Linked DNA regions of Homo sapiens: region 2 is linked to region 1. Evidence: promoter capture Hi-C in 16 types of primary human blood cells and fetal thymus (Javierre and others, 2016). All regions are on one chromosome and are shown on one strand. Each heading gives the region's core, a stretch centred on a gene start or on the middle of the fragment in contact. The rest is flanking DNA. Distances are from core to core; before and after follow the strand shown. Region 1 holds the start of LINC01352 (long intergenic non-protein coding RNA 1352). Region 2 has its middle 14 kb from the start of TRT-TGT2-1.

Evidence for each region. The method cuts DNA at HindIII sites, captures the fragments that hold promoters and counts their contacts. A CHiCAGO score of 5 or more calls a contact.
Region 2: a fragment that was not itself captured here is called in contact with the fragment with the promoter of LINC01352 in region 1 in 1 of 17 cell types (naive B cells); the score reaches 6.3 in naive B cells.

What each region holds. Positions count from the first base shown.
Region 1 is chr1:220,826,220-220,831,386 of GRCh38, forward strand. LINC01352 (long intergenic non-protein coding RNA 1352) reads left to right here and starts at 3,036. Exons shown (of 4, transcript NR_110797.1): 1 at 3,036-3,223; 2 at 4,474-4,688; 3 at 4,923-5,164. The HindIII fragment of the contact is 6,544 bases long and covers 1-4,644 here.
Region 2 is chr1:222,448,269-222,453,435 of GRCh38, forward strand. No RefSeq gene overlaps it. Among named protein-coding and RNA genes, the nearest start is that of TRT-TGT2-1, 14 kb to the right of the region's middle. The HindIII fragment of the contact is 6,115 bases long and covers 1-5,167 here.

The DNA of each region.
Region 1 (5,167 bases), core at 1,786-4,285:
TGAGCATATATTTAAGTTTCCTGCCTTCTTTGCAGTCTGTCCCTGGGGGCCCCGACCTCTTGCAGCTCCTGACTCTTGACAATGCCTTCTTGTTGATCTCATCTCACTTTCCTCCACACTTGGCCGGCTGCCCACCGCTGTGTTTCTCTCTGAGATAATCCTGTCCCTATGATTCCTCTGGTTTACGTGGTGTTAAGGTGTTAGGGATCTTGACAGTTAAAAGTAACACAGAACACCCAGATCAGGCTCCACAAGCCTCCCCAGCCTCAGGCATTGCTGATGAAGAAAAAGTAAAGTCTTCTGTGCATCTCTGGAATCAGCTTCTAAAGAGTGACCCCTGGGAGGCAAGCCTGATGTGTGGTGCTCAAAGTCGGGACAGTGGTTACACTGGGTGGGAAGGAGGTGGGCGGTGATGGGGCCAGGTGCAGACAAGAGATTCTGGCCATGGGAAATACTCTGTTATTGATCTGGTGCTGATGACCCAAGTCTGTCCACTTTGTGAAAATGTATTGAGCTTGCGACTTGTGTACTTGTCTGAATGTGCATTACACATTAGTAGGAAGTTAAAAAACAGAACACATCACCCTGTAAGGCACATATGTTTCTGAGTGAAAAGCTAGCAGCCTGTGGTGAGCGAATGTGGTAGGGTGGGGACATGTTCTATGAGAATGGCCATCAAGGGTCCCCTTCCTGTGGGGACCTGGATTGACGATGCCTGTCAGAGTCCTGGAGGGGTGGGTTCTGCAGGTCCGTCCCACAATCCAGTCCCCAGATTAGAGATTTGTAAGTGGGTGACCCGCCTTGGAAAATTCCCCTCAGCACCTCTTATGTCTCTTGGCTCTCCATGTGGGGCACCCATACACATACAGAGCAGAACAGACCTGATTTTACATTTATCTTTTACTTTTTTTTAGAGACAGGGTCCTGCTCTGTCACCCACGCTGCTGCAGTGCAGTGGTGTGATCACAGCTCACTGTAGCCTCGATCTCCTGGGCTCAAGCAATCCTCCCGCCTCAGCCTCCCAAGTAGCACATGCCTGGCTAATTTTTAAAAATTTTTTTGTAGAGATGGAGTCTCCCTGTGTTGGCCAGGCTGGTCTCAAACTTGTGGCCTCAAACGATTCTCCCATCTCAGCCTCCCAAAGTGCTGGGATTACAGGCATGAGCCACTGTGCCCTGCCTTTTTAAAAAAATGTAAATTCTCAGTCCACAGTGTTGAGGATGTGAGAGTGAAGGGCTGCTCATCAAGAGGCTTGCTTAGTTGTTGAGTGTAGGTAAGACACTTAAAGAGAGTCACATTCTTGGGAGAAACTAAGATTCTTCCCTTGCTGTAAGAGGACACCATAAGAAGCCAAGGGTTGGCTCTGAACAGAGGGTCAAGCCAACCAGGCCCTGCTGTTATCACCTACGGAAATCCTGTGTGGCAGTAAATACAGTCCTCAGCAAAGCCTGGAGAAGAGATTACAGGGGGCACAGAGGGGCTGGGGATGCTAATGTGGAGGTTATTGGCCAGATAGTGGCCAGGAAACCAGAGACTAGGGGGGGTTCAGTTGGAGGAGCATAGGCGGAAATGGGAGAGAAAAATAAATAAATGAGATAAGCAACTTCATTTGCTTCCTCCCTTATTACTCTTTTGTTTTGTGTTTAGGACTCTGGTCTCCCCTGAGGTTGATCTCTTCTTCTGGGGACAACAGCCTGCAGGGTGATTTTGAAAAGCAGGCTCTGACTTCTACTTCCTTGTCCTGTACTCACCCCACCTGGTGTAATTCACCGTAATGCAGTGAACTTCCACATGGCTGCTGGGCATGCTTCCCAAAGCCAGCCCCTGGGCAGGGTTTCCCTTAATTTAGACCCCTGTCCCTACCTCTCCAAGTGCAAAGTGTACAAGGCTACACGCCCAGCTGCCCCCCACCCCCATACACACACTGGAGAGACCAAATGTTTGAGATCACTGTTGGGTAGCTGGGTCAAGAGAGCTTCATAACAATGTTGTTGGCATGTGGAGAGCTTTTCTTTTTCTTGGATCCCAACTGGAAATTATCAGCTTCGCCCCATGCTGACATGCGAATGTCCAGGCCTGCCTTTCTGCTGCAGGGCAATGCTCCAGGTTACAACATCGACACCAAGCAGTTTGTTGAGAAAACTTTGGACCTCATGAGCTGGGCAAGAGCGGCCTGGCAGGTGGTAGGAGAGCAGCCTGTCCATGCCTCAGCTGTGGCTCCACTGGCTCTGTGACTGTGCAGATTTTCTAACTTTTGAAGACCTCTGTTTGGATATCCATAAAATAGGTAAGATGGTGCTAATACCTACCTGTGATGTTGTGAAGATTTAATAGCATAATACTTAAAAGCACTTTGCATACATTAGCAAAGTGCCTAAATATTAGTTATTTGGCGGAGGCTATTAACCAGTGTGCTATGAGGTGCAAAGTAAGTTGTTACCAATAACTCAAAGAACTCCAGTTTGCAAATGTTTTACTTTTACTTAAGAGAATCTTTGCGGGAGAATTAAAACCAATTAATTCCCACCACTGGCCAAGAGCTCATGCTGTAATTATCCAAGACAGAATAGCTCAACAGAAAACCAAGTCATGCAATTCTGAGCACTTGTCCTTGGGATGCCACTTTGGGGCTCCCATATCTGAAATCATTTTGTTCTCAGTCCACCTGTGTGACATTTCTGTCCTGCTCAGCCACGGGTTCACAATAATCAAGGGAATGACCCAAGGGATTCACTTCTTCCAAGCAGCCGATGCCTTTGGAAGTTATGTTGACATTGCTTGTTTAAACCTAGGGCAAGAAATCCTTTCTCTGCCAGACCTGACTCTTCAGGCACACTCCTCAGTTTGGAGACGTGACTTGCCATGTAGTACTGAGAGGGAAAACAGGCCAGAAACAGCCTTGTTGAAAACTTCTTTTCTGCTTAGCTGCCCTCTGAACAGTCACCATAAAGATTGTGAGGTGCTGGAGCCAGGGATGACCTCATAAAGCCCTTTGCTAAATACTTAGTGAGCTGGTACTGTGGGCCAGGCACTGTGCTCATCATGAACAAAACCAAGGCAGACAACACTGTCATTAATGGAGCTTATCATGTAATACGGAAGCCTGGGATAAGCAACAAATTACACAAGTGACAAATGTGATGAGTGCTGTGAAGCAGAGTGCGGGGTGCCCAGGGAATCAGCAGAGCCCTGGAGGATAACAGCCTGAGCTCCAGGAAGGAAGGTTGTGGTGGTGCTTAGGGTCAGAGTGGGGACAAGCATTCCAAGCAAAGGGAAAAGCACATACACATGCTATATTAGTCAGGTTTCTCTAGAGGGACAGAACTAACAGGATAGATGTATAAATGAGGGGGAGCTTATTAAGTAGTATTGACTTGCATGAGCACAAGGTGAAGTCCCACAATAGGCTGTCTGCAAGCCGAAGAGCAGGGAAGCCAGTCCGAGTCCCCAAACCTCAAAAGTAGGGAAGCTGACAGTGCAGCCTTCTGAAGGCCCCAGAGCCCCCGGCAAACTGCTGGTGTAAATCCAAGAGTCCAAAAGCTGAAGAACTTGGAGTCTGTTGTTCGAGGGCAGGAAGTATCCAGCACGAGAGAATGATGAAGGCTGGAAGACTCAGCAAGTCTACTCCTTCCATGTTCCTCTGTGTGCTTTTATTCTGGCTGTGCTGGCAGCTGATTAGATGGTGCCCGCCCAGATTGAGGGTGGGTCTGCCTCTCCCAGTCCACTGACTCAAAAGTTAATATCTTTGGCAACACCCTCACAGACACATCCAGGAACAATAGTTTGCATCCTTCAATCTAATCAAGTTGACACCTAATATTAACCATCATACATCCCCTCCATGGGAAGGAGCATGATGCCTTATATAGTCTACTACCCTCAAACCAATCCTACTCCCTCATCCCCAACACCTTCTTCCCCTGGAACTCTAGATAGAGTTTCTTGACTAGACACATAAGCACAATTAGGCTATGCCTAATTATGAAGCCATCCCGGTTTATACATTTTCTTGTTATACTTGCCTATTTACAAGTTTTTCTTGTGAAAACTTGCCTATTCTTTTTGCTGCCTCCTCTCCACCCTAAAAGAGAAACTCTAAGGAAACACTCCCAGAGTTTATTATAGTTATTATGACTCAGATTTGAAGACTAGAATTTAATGGAGGTTTTCCTAACATTCCTTGGGGACTTGAAGGACTTTTTTTCCCACCAGCCACAGAAGTAAGATTATAAAACATTTATTTATTAAAAGAAAAGAAATCTTCTGGGCTCAAAGTTCTAGTTATTCTAAAAGCAGAGCACTTGTTCCATGTTTTCATATCGCCTCCCCACACCTACCTCTCCTCTCCCATTCTCTATTTCTTTATTTCTGTGCTGTAGTAATAAGCAAAACAGAGAAGCAATTGGTTTTAGTCTTGGATCTTGACCTTGCTGTGTGGCCTTGGCCAAGTCACTTCCCCTTTCTCAGCCTCAGTTTCTTCAAGTGTAAAATGAGAGATTGGATGGATCAGAAGATTCAGGCCTCCTTGAAAATCCCCATGGGTGAACCCCAACACACAGGCTATTCAGCCAGCAGCCCCAAGTCCTTTATGAAAAGCCAAGGTTGATTGAAACTCTCCCTTCTCAGGAGAGAAACTAGAGGCAAAGCTTCCTCATCAGCAGAGATAAACTTGGCAGGAGCCAATTCAGGTACCAGTAAAGGATATCTTCTTCTGCAGGCCAGCCTCCCTCTCTCCAGCTTGGTTCAATCCTGCATTCATTGACACTGCACTTCTATAAGCCCTTAGAACTCTGGGAATTCTCTCCTAGTTTTCCTAGGTATGCTTGCTGTTTCTACATGGGTTTCCTGTGAATGACCAGACCAATAATCAAATGCCTCCAGGACCCATAACACAAATGAGAAGAGTTCTCTCATTATGACAGGTAGGACCATGGCCAACTCAGGGCTCGTGCTTGATCGAAGGGGATCTGTGTTAGTCAGCATTCTCCAGAGAAATGGAACCCATTGGATAGATATGTAAAGAGATTTATTATGGGAGTTGGCTCATGCAATTGTGGAGTCCTAGAAGACCCACCACCTCCTGTCTGCAAGCTGGAGAAACAGCAAAGCCAGTGACGTAATTAAGTCTGAATCCAAAGGCATAAGATCAAGGAGAACTGATGGTGTA
Region 2 (5,167 bases), core at 1,767-4,266, 1.6 Mb after region 1:
CTCCCAAAACAATGGGATTACAAGCATAAGCTGCTGTGCCCAGACAAAAACTAAGATAATAATAAAACTCATCTCTCAGATCACACGTGAGAAAGGATTTGCAAAGCAAAGAGCTTACAAAAATGTTAGGCATTTTCATGTCTTCCTGTGGACAGAGATCACCATTTTTAATTCCTCTTTGGATCATCCACAATGTCTTTTAAAGGGTATGGCATATAGTAGGAATTCAATAGATGAGGCACATATTGGCTTAATGAGTAAGCCCTGGTATGAATGAATCAAAACCCGCACATCCATTTCACTGATCAATTTATCTCTAAGTGAGAGTGTTTGGCCTTAACACCTTACTCTCAATCAAGTGAGAAAATTCCTGCTGGGTGGACCCCCTCTCTCAGAAAAGAGTCTTTTGGGTCAAATTGGTAATGAAGTTGTAATCTGAAACAGTTTCACACCTGAGCTCCTAACAACTCTAGGAGAAAATTCAGCTGTTGGGTGTGGCTAAGATTCATAAATATCATCAATTTGTTAAGAACTTAGATTATAATCAACCATAGAGCTAATCTGTTAGTTACAGAACACTGTTTTGGGGGGTATTTTGGTTATTTTGTTTTGTTTTGTTGAGACAGCATCTTGCTTTGTCACCCAGGCTGGAGTGCAGTGGCATGATCATGGTTCACTGCAGCCTTCCTGTGCTCAAGAGATCCTCCTGTCTCAGCCTCCTGAGTAGCTGGGACCACAGGTGTGTGCCACCATGCCCAGCTAACATTTTTATTTTATTTTATTTTTTGCAGAGATGGGGGTCTTACTATGTTGCCCAAGCTGGTCTCAAACTCCTGAGCTCAAGTGATATTCCTTCCTCTCCTCCCAAAGGATTGCAATCACAGGTGTGACCCACTGCACCCAGCAGAACATTGTTTTAATGCTGTGGTATATAAATTTGTTGATTTCTTTAGGCCAGTGCATATATATTACTTGTTGATGTAAATAATCTGTTATATGAATTTGTTGGTTTTGCTCATCTGTGTACCCTAGGTCTTCAGAAGCTCTGATGAGCAGGGTGTCACATATACCCAGGCCTCCCCAACGTTAAGGGACAAAACACCTTTCCTATCACACACACTGCTGCCCCCTTAGACTGCCATCCTATACCTTGCTTTCCTTCTCTTATCAAACCCCCGTCACAATAGCCTGCAATACTCCAATATTTGAAGCTCCTGAAATATCATCAGTTCTGCTCCACTCAGCTGCATTCTCCAATGACCTAATTACCAAATTCAGCGCATTTTATTTGATTTTCTACAATGTTTCAAACTGCTAGCCAGCCCATCTGTTTTGAACCTCTTGCCTTCTTTCCCAGACAAGATAACATCTCTGTGCTCCCATTGTTCCTCAGCCCCAACCTGCACCTCATTTCCCAAACTTCAGGCCCCAGCTGCTGATCCCCTAGGTCCTAGGGGCTCACACACCCTTTGGCTTCAGCAGCAACTTTTTTTTTTTTTTTTTTTTGAGATGGAGCCTCACTCTGTAGCCCAGGCTGGAGTACAGTGGCACAATCTCAGCTCACTGCAACTTCCGCCTCCCAGGTTGAAGCGATTCTCCTGCCTCAGCCTCCTGAGTAGCTGGGATTACAGGCATGTGCCACCACACCCGGGTAATTTTTATATTTTCAGTAGAGATGGGGTTTCACCATGTTGGCCAGGCTGGTCTCCAACTCCTGATCTCAAATGATCCACCCACCTTGGCCTCCCAAAGTGCTGGGATTATAGGCGTGAGCCACCATGCCCAGCCCAGCAGCACCTTAACGAGGACACACATCTCCAACTCAGGCCTCCCCCAGGCTGCAGCCTGGAATGTCCAGCGGCATGTGGAACTCCACCTGGGTGGCCTGCAGCTCAGCAGGCCCAACACAGGATCAGTCTCCAGTTTCCCAAACCAGCTTGTCCCTTGACTCACATTCCTCATCAGGAGCCAGGCTCTGTTCTGTCACATATCCCACAAGAACAGACTGGGTGCCCACCCTGTGTGGGCATTGCCCAGGGGCGGGGGCTGCAGCATTGAACAGGACAGGGCCGCTGTCCTCATGGATGGGGGAACCCACACGGTAAGCCAAAAATAAACATAAAATATTACATCAGGTGGTGATGAACGCTATGAACAAAAATACAACAGGCTTAGGAGATCATGGCGGGGAGGCCTCCATTTTCTTTTCTTTTTCTTACCATTTTAGGAGTTTATAGTGTTTCACACAGATATTGAACACTCTGGGTCAAGATGAGCTCATTCAGTAAGGGAACCTGGAGAAAGAAAAGAAGCAGGGGACCTGTCCCGGGATGTGTCGACATTCAGAGATTTGGAGGAGAATGAAAAGGCACCACACCTGGGCCAGGTGTGGTGGCTCACGCCTGTAATCCCAACACTTTGGGAGGCTGAGGGAGGTGGATCACCTGAGGTCAGGAGTTCGAGACCAGCCTGGCCAACATGGTGAAACCCCGTCTCTACTAAAAATACAAAAATTAGCCAGGAGTAGTGGCACACACCTATAATCCCAGCTACTTGGGAGGCTGAGACAGGAGAATCACTTGAACCCGGAGGCGGAGGTTGCAGTGAGCCAAGATCACACCATTGCACTCCAGCCTGGGCAACAGAGTGAGACACCATCTCAAAAACAAACAAACAAACCAAAAACAGAAAAAAAAAACAAAAAGGCAGCCTGGAGACAGAAGGAGCTGTTGCTGCCTGAAAGTTAGAAGAAAATCAGGAGTGCACTTTCCCAGAAGCAAAGCAAAGAAACATCCCTAGAAGAGTCGGCGGAGCCCAGGGCCCCAGTAGGGTGAAGACAGCATCGGCCATTGGCTTTGGCAACCTGGAGCTCGAAAGAGGAGACAAGGGTAGTTTCAGTGGTGCATGGGAGGGAACCCGTGAGAGAATGGGAAGTGAGGGATGAAGCAGACACAGCAAGAGCACACAGCCCTTCTCAGGAGCTTTAAGAGAAACAGGAGCAGAGAAATGGAGCAGGAGTTAAAACTAAGTCTAACATGAGGCGTTTTATGTTAGGAGATTCCAGCATATTTATATGCTGATGAGTATGAGCCAGGGGAGAAGGAAAATGTGAAGATGTCAGGGAAAAAGAAGTAATTGTAGAAGCAAACACTTGATTGGAGGGAGGGTTTAGGAACCATAGCACACATAGGGAGTTTGGCTTGGGACGAGCAGAGAGTTTTCTTGAACTCCTCCCTTAGATCCCTAATCACTTATCTCTAAGCTATACTCGTGACATCTTAAATCTTGAATCAATCACCAAATGTAGTAATTTATTCACCCCATAGTATTGATCATCTTTTGTCCCTTGATTTTCATTCTCACTGCCGTCATTTGGTAACTAAATTATCACATCTTGGAGAATCACTTGAACCTGGGAGGCAGTGAGCCGAGATCGTGCCACTGCACTCTAGTCAGGGTGACAGAGCAAGACTTCATCTCAAAAAAAAAAAAAAGGTAAAAGATGTTTGTTTTAATTTTCAAACCATAACCACACTGAGCCCCTACCTGCCCAGAGCAGCAGGATGACCAGTCTCTTTCCATAATTCCCTTCTCCAAATACCCTGAGTACAGATAAGGTGGCACCTGCAGTCCATGGATCAGCCTGTGAGAGACTCCAATGCTCCCCTTGAAGCTACAATCACTGATGTCCAGACACTGGTCTCTGCTGCCTCCTGTCCCTTCCCTGCTAAGGCAAGGGCCTGGGGTCCCTGTTGGAATCCAGAGGATGAAGCAGGGCAAAGACAAGCCCCCAGTAGCTAGCCACAATGGTCACCTTGCTCATCAACATTCAGCAGACAGGGGAAGAGGAGGAGAGATTGCCCAGGGAGATTGTATAAGCCAGGCCTGGAAGGGATACCCATGGCCACACCTAAAGAGCCTGGAATATTTGGTCTAGCTGTATTCCCAGGAAGAAGAGAAAACAGGTTTGTTGGGTGGTAGTGACACATGATCATCTTACGAACCTGGGATAATAATAGATGTTGCATAAGGACCGGCTGAGGATACGAGATTATAGGTGACACAAAGTTTCTTAGCATATTACTTGGCACTTACATGATGGGCAAATGATCAGCTTCCTAAGTCTTCTCCCTTTTTCCCTCCTCCCTAGTCTCTCTTTTCACCAATCCTTTCTACCATTTGTTTCCTCATTAGTATTTCTAAAAGTTCTACTTTTCTCAAGTCATTACCTACTCCCCACCCCAATCAGAAAATGCTGGTAGTTCCCCCATTGCCTTCAGGACGAAGTCCAAATTCCAGAACCTGGCATTAAGTCTCCCACCCCAAAGGGATCGCTCTTCCACCCCTATTCCCATCATGAAGCTGCTCTATTCTCAGAACACACCAGGTGGGTTCACTGCAAGTGTAATGTGTCCCATCTCTGCCCCCACCCAAATCTTATTCATGTTTCAAAAACGAATTCATATCCTACCTTTTCCATGAGCCTCCTCTGACCACGCAGGCATCCCTTCCTCAGTTGAAGTCCTGTAGCACACATCATTTCTTCTCACTGGACATGTGTGACATTTCTTCACATTATTCATTAACTTCCGTCTGTGTGAATCTTCCTCCCACAATGGTACTGGAGTTCCCTAAGGACAAGAACCATGCCTCACTCTAGATTGCCTAGCACAGTCCTTTTTGCAAAAAAGATGATTAAATAAATGTATTAAAGCACACATTTCAAGAGTAAGATGTACTAGGAAGAGCTCAGATCTGAGCTTTAAATCCCAGGTACAACATTTGCAAGTTGCATGGTTAGAAACTTCTAAGTCAGAGCTAATTACAGCTACCTGACAGGGGGGTTTTGAGTATTAAGTGAGATAATGTATATAAGGCACCTAATATGTACCTGAAGCACGGTGGGCTCTCAACAAATTCCCTTCTCCTGCCACCCTACCTGAAACTGACATAGAATGACAAGGGACAAACCTGTTAGGAGACAGGCAAAGATGATAAAGGTACTTTCCATTCCACAGCTCAGAGATCCTGTTCCAGGAAGCATCTGTCTTGACAAGGTGTGAGGACTCTAAGGGAGGCTGAAACTCTAAGGGAGACAATGAGATGCTAACAAGCTGGAAATCAGATGCATTTCAAGAACCATTTACACCCCAACAGGCTGACCTCA